Linked DNA regions of Homo sapiens: region 1 is linked to region 2. The links are contacts of gene promoters, found by promoter capture Hi-C in blood cells and fetal thymus (Javierre and others, 2016). All regions are on one chromosome and are shown on one strand. The core of a region is centred on a gene start or on the middle of the fragment in contact, and the rest is flanking DNA. Distances in the headings are between cores, read along the strand shown. Region 1 overlaps TSHZ2 (teashirt zinc finger homeobox 2). Region 2 holds the start of ZFP64 (ZFP64 zinc finger protein).

The links. The method cuts DNA at HindIII sites, captures the fragments that hold promoters and counts their contacts. A CHiCAGO score of 5 or more calls a contact.
Region 1: a contact is called between a fragment that was not itself captured here and the fragment with the promoter of ZFP64 in region 2, in 1 of 17 cell types (naive CD8 T cells). The highest score is 5.8, in naive CD8 T cells.

Annotation. Positions count from the first base shown.
Region 1 is chr20:53,177,221-53,180,059 of GRCh38, reverse strand. The region is part of intron 1 of TSHZ2 (teashirt zinc finger homeobox 2); the gene reads right to left. Among named protein-coding and RNA genes, the nearest start is that of TSHZ2, 210 kb to the right of the region's middle. The HindIII fragment of the contact is 226 bases long and covers 1,315-1,540 here.
Region 2 is chr20:52,190,505-52,193,266 of GRCh38, reverse strand. It overlaps ZFP64 (ZFP64 zinc finger protein), which reads left to right and starts at 1,488. Exons shown (of 6, transcript NM_018197.3): 1 at 1,488-1,676. The coding sequence starts at 1,631. RefSeq lists enhancers at 607-736, 1,777-2,633 and silencers at 1,147-1,416, 1,777-2,016. The HindIII fragment of the contact is 28,170 bases long and covers 1-2,762 here.

The DNA.
Region 1 (2,839 bases), core at 178-2,677, 990 kb before region 2:
GGTTCGACATTCTATAAATGACAGTTTATGTGCCTATAATATGCATCTGGTGAAATGCGTATTTTCCTTTCAGAAGGTGTTTCCATTACGGTTATTCTGAACATCACGTGATCTTACAGTTGCTAGGGTAACTCCATCTTTTTTAAAGGAGAACAACAGAGTAAATAAGCACGTAAATCGACTTTGGTGCTATGTAAATTCTAGTGAATCTCTTATCGTTACCTTGACGATAAAAAAGCTGGCATTTATCTTCTCTGGCCCCCAGCACGCTTTAGTTTGAACTTAAATTTTATAAAATACACGTGTGGGTATGCCAAAGGCTCTACAGATATCCAGGAAGCAGTGCTGGTCAAGCGATATGTTCAACAGGCAAGGCCGCCTGGACAATGACGATGGGTCACAGAAGAACCAGGGGAGGGAGTAAATGGGAGACCAGATGTTCAGAGTCAAGAGGTAATACCTGTCAATTATGGGCTATCACTCAGTAAGCCTACTCAGGTGGCACGTGAGCTTCTGGAACAGCCGGAAACCTTGTCAACTGTCCAGGTAGTTTGTCCACCTGAAGTCTCACCTATGACTTCTCTGGATCCTTTGGCATCCTAGCACTGAAATCTGCAAAGCTGCTTATGTACTTTCTGTAAGGTGAAAATTACGGATGCAGCACCTGTGATTAAGTCATGATGGCTGGAAGTAAATCTTGGTGAATATTTCTAAATGTTTTCCACATTTCCCATACAGAGGTTTGATAATTTGTTCACCTAGTTTCCATTTTATAATTGAGGTTGGCAGTGGAGACCAAGACTCGATGTGGTGTGGGTCAATTTGGAAGAATTACTTCGAAGAAAATGAGAAAGAAACACTCAAATGAAATCCCTTTTGAGGAAGGAGATACTCTTTTCCTTAAAAAAAAAAAAATCAACATTTGTATCAATAAAGGTTGAGATCAGAAAATGTTTCCCGTTCAATGAGAAAGATTTGGACTGTGATGAAGATAAACTAAAAAGAAAAGAGTTTGACCAACTGGCAAGGGTTTGACCCCTTTCCCCTTTAAAAAAATCACACTAAAACTACAGCTTATGTTTCGCATGAGTGGATGCTCTGAATTGCAATGCAAAGTGCTTATGAAAACTTAAGATCTTACATTACTACTTCAAAGAGTACATGTGATAGGAATTCCTATAGAAGAAAATGAAAAAGGATATAGCTTGAAAATCCAAATTTATAGCAAATTCTGCATCTATCATTTGGCGATGCTATGACTGGATGCTATCACTATTTGGAAGTATCAAAAATATTACAAAGGAAAATTAAGCTTCATTTTACTCTATCTTCTTATAAAGTGAGGCCCACATCCTGGTGATGACTATTTCCTTAATGAGACTATGGGATTTTATCAAACTCCATAAAACATGATTGCATTTCCTTCACTCTGAAATCACCTTATTTTAATTTCCACATGAAATTGGGATGCAATTTGTGTGTACATTTAATATGCGAGGGTTCCTTCTCCACCTCTCACTCACTCCTCCCCAAAAAAGCTTTGGCCAAATCTACAGCATGTTTTACAATGGACAGAGTCTTAGGATTGAGGCAAGTACAATCAAGAGGAGTCAGGGGCTAAGATAAACAAAAGAACATGAAAACAGTGATGGTGATGCCTCATGTGATTAGCTCTATGGTCCCTTCCTCTTCTCAGAGTGACAGGCAGAAAAATCGACAGTTAATTCCAGATCCATCAGGGGCTGTGCTGCCTTTCTACAGAAATGATGAGTTTAGAGAGCAAGCTGCAGATGAGTGTCTGAGCACTCGCGGGAGGTGCCGAGTGTCATGGCAGAAGTTCGTGTGGCATCGCTGTCTGCTGCGTCCAAGAGATGATAGGGTCCTTCCAGAAGAGGAACAGCAGGGTAGCGCAGAAATGGAAGGTAAAAGAGGTTAATTTATGGAAATTATCCAGGTCATGCAACCAGTAGGACATATCAAACAGCTTTAAGAGAGCAGCAGTGATGTGTGTAGGATCTGACTTTTAATAGGTCATGAGACAGTGACAGCTAACGGGGAGCCAGGTAACTTTTGGAGACAAAAGCTAACATTTCCAGAGTGCTTACAATGCACCAGGCACTGTGCAAAGAGCCAAAGCAGTGCGAGAGATACTGTGATCCCCATTTTACAGATGAGGAAATAGAGGCTCTGAGAGTTTCAGCATGAAGTCAGTAAGGGGCAACTCCTCTCAACATTGGGATCAAGTCCTACCTTGGGCACTGTAGGGAGAGCACCTAGGAACTGTCCCTAGAAACATTATGTGTGGGTCCATGACCAGATTTTTATTTATTTTAAAATCAGAAGAAAAATAATGAACTTTTAGATAGAAGAAACTGCTTAAATGTAGATTAACATATTTGTCTGTATACTAATGTAATCATAGGATATAATTTTTAATATCTTTTTAAATGCGAGGGGCCCCGAAGGTAAAGGTGCCAAGGATTCATGGAAGACCTAATGCAGCCCTGAAGAAAGAACTGGAATTAAAGGGCAAGTCTAAAGCCTTGCTTCTTCAAGTGTGGTTTGAGGACCAGCCGTATGTGCACCAGTGAAGGCTCCTTGGAAATGTAGAATCTCGGCACAGATCTGCTGAATCAGAATCTACATTTTAATGAGATCCCCAGTAGATTCATACGCACATTAAAATTTGAGATGCACTCCACTAAATCCTGAACTAACAATTTATACTAACTCTTCATCTTCACATGAGCCACGGCAATTTTAACCTGTATTGGAATCTAAAACCATGCTGGGTAAGGACAGAGGTTTTCCTGGGAGCTGGTTTAGGTGTCCTTTTACC
Region 2 (2,762 bases), core at 239-2,738:
CATCAGTGAAGCAAAGAGATTTTTTTAATCCCCATTTTTACAGGGACTTACTGAAAATAAGGGGGAGGAGAACACAGATAATATACAACTAAATTATATCTAAGCAGATATACTCGAGATACATAATATGTTCCATCTAACACCTTTTAAGGACAAAGCAGGCCAGGCATGGTGGCTTACACCTGTAACCCCAGCACTTTGGGAGGCTGATGGAGGATCGCTTGAGGCCAGGAATTCGAGACCAGCCTGGGCAACATCTCTACAAAAATAAAAATTAAAAAGTGAGCCAGGGTGGTGGCCCACGCCTGTAGGGGGGATTGCTTGAGCCCAGGAGTTGGAGGCTGCAATGAGCTAGGATCCGACCACTCTTCCAGCCTGAGAGACAGAGAAAGACCCCCTCTCTAAAAAAAGAAAGGGAGAAAGAGAGAGAGGCAGAGAGAGAGAAAGAAAGAAAAGAAAAGAAAAGAAAAGAAAAGAAAAGAAAAGAAAAGAAAAGAAAAGAAAAGAAAAGAAAAAGAAAAAGAAAAAAACAGGAAGGAGACAGGGAGTGGTTGGGGGAGGAGGAGGGGGCTGCAATATTAGAATGATTAGATTAGGCCAAGCATGGCCTCCCTGAGTGTGAATTTGAATGCTGACCTTCAGAAGCAGGACAGACTCTATGGGCAAATCCCTCGAGGCTGGGAGAGGTCTGAGGCTTGGGAGGGTCGGCAGAGAGACAATAGGGCTGACGCAGGAGCCCGGGGGAGACAGTAGTAGTAAGACATGAGGGACAGAGCAGAGAGGTCACTGTCCTCAGAGTGTGGACGCCGACCAACACTAGGGGCATCACCTGGGAACTTAGAAATGCTCGTTCTCACGCCTCGCCCCAGACCTACTGAAGCAGAAACGCTAGGGTGGGCCCAACAGCGTGTGTTCTAACAAGCCTTTCAGGCGACTGCGATGCACGATAAAGTTGGCAGCTCCTGGAGCAGGGGTCCCTCCGCGCTACGACCCCACCTCTTCGCGGTCCTCTCAGTCTCCCTAGCGGGGCAAGGGACCCGCCCAGCGCTTTGCTGATTTGCCCAGCGCTCACGCCCAACCTGGGTTTCTCCGGAGCTCGCCGCGCCCCGCGCACCCACCCCGCAACGGCAGCCGCACGTGGGTCTCCCCGCAAACCACCCAGGCGTCCCGGGAGCAGCGCTGCTGCACGGCCGCGCTGGGGGCCCAACGCCTGGGGTTGCAGGTGCAAAAGGCGCCCCGAGCCGGGGAGGCCAATCGCGTCCGCGGAGAACGCAGAGTGCGGGCAGGGGCGCATCCCTCGCCACCCGCGGTCGCCCAGCACGCCGGGACGCGCGTGGCCATCCAGCTCCCCGGGGGCGTTGGGGGGCTCCGCGGGCCTGGGCCTCGGGATTCGCCCGCCGCTTCCCCGGGGAGCCGCTGCTGCAAAGCCAGGTTGGGGCGCCGGGCCCGGCCAGCGCCCTCTAGGCAGCGGAAGTGCAGCTTGCTTTACATCCGTCCTCCCCGCCTCGCAGAGTTGGGAGAAGGCAGGGTGGGGGGTGTGGAAAAATAAAAGGAAAAGTCCTTGCACCATGTAGATCAGCGTCCCCCACTTTGGCATCCCGGCCGGCCGGGGACCTCCCAGTCTGCGGCCATGAACGCGAGCAGCGAGGGCGAGAGCTTCGCGGGCTCGGTGCAAAGTAAGTGCTTTTCCGGGAGCAGTGCGCGCTCCGGGGCCCAGTGCGCGCTCCGGGGCCCGGGCCCAAGCACGTCTGCGACGCAGCCAGCAGGCCCGGGGCCCCGAAATCGGGGTGACGGCTCGGAGCCGCGTCTCGGGGACCGCGGCGGGCGCGCTGTGCAGGGGGCGCCGGAGTGGGCTTGGGGTGGGGGCGCACCCGACCTGGCGCAAGACCGGGGGCGCTCTCCAGCCTTGCGAGACCCCTTGGAAGGGAACAGTGGGGGAGGGCACGCCGTTCAGACAATCGCCACCCCCTAAGGGCATTCCCGCCCCATCAGGCGGAGTTTGGGGCGGGCAGGAGAAAGGGAGGAATCTAGGGTAAACGGGGCAACACTGATGGGAAAACTTCTGCCTCAGTGGCTCAAAATTAGAGCCTGGAGATTGGGGGAATCACCAGGTCTCACGAGGTCCTGCCGGCTCATTGCAAAGCCTTTTCCTCATTAAGGGTGGAGATCTGAATGGAAAACGGGGCCGTGGTCGCTTTATTTGGGTTTGGGGTTCAGTTTTTATTTAACCGAGGAGGACATCAGCGTTTTTCAAGTCCCTGGTTTCTCCCGGTGCATTGTTTCCCAAAGTGTGGTCCAGAGACTGAGTGCAACCAGCCACCTGGGAGCGAGAGCGTGTATTTTAAAACAGCTTTCTGGGCCCCACCCATTCAATCTCGGGGGTGGGGCTGGGGATCCGCTGTCCTTCGTAGCTGCCTGGGCAACTCTGAAGCACATGAAGTTTGAGAACCCATCTACCAGGGGTTTGCAGAAAATCTGGCACATAGTAAGCTCCCAGCTTGTTAGCTGCTACTGTTAACAGTTTGGGAGACACTGGGTCCCAAACTTGGCGGTGTATTCCTTGCATTACTGTGAAAAGCACAGATTTTCCTAAACACCATCCTCCCCACCCCACCCTGTTATGACTCAGTATCTCCTAGGTGGGGCTCAGATATGTCCATGTTTAAATAGTGTACCTCAGTAAGAACCCAGCAGGTAACATGCTGGGGGACTGGCGGGGAGGGGGGACTGTGCTGGTACGAGCACCATCCCATTTAATTCTC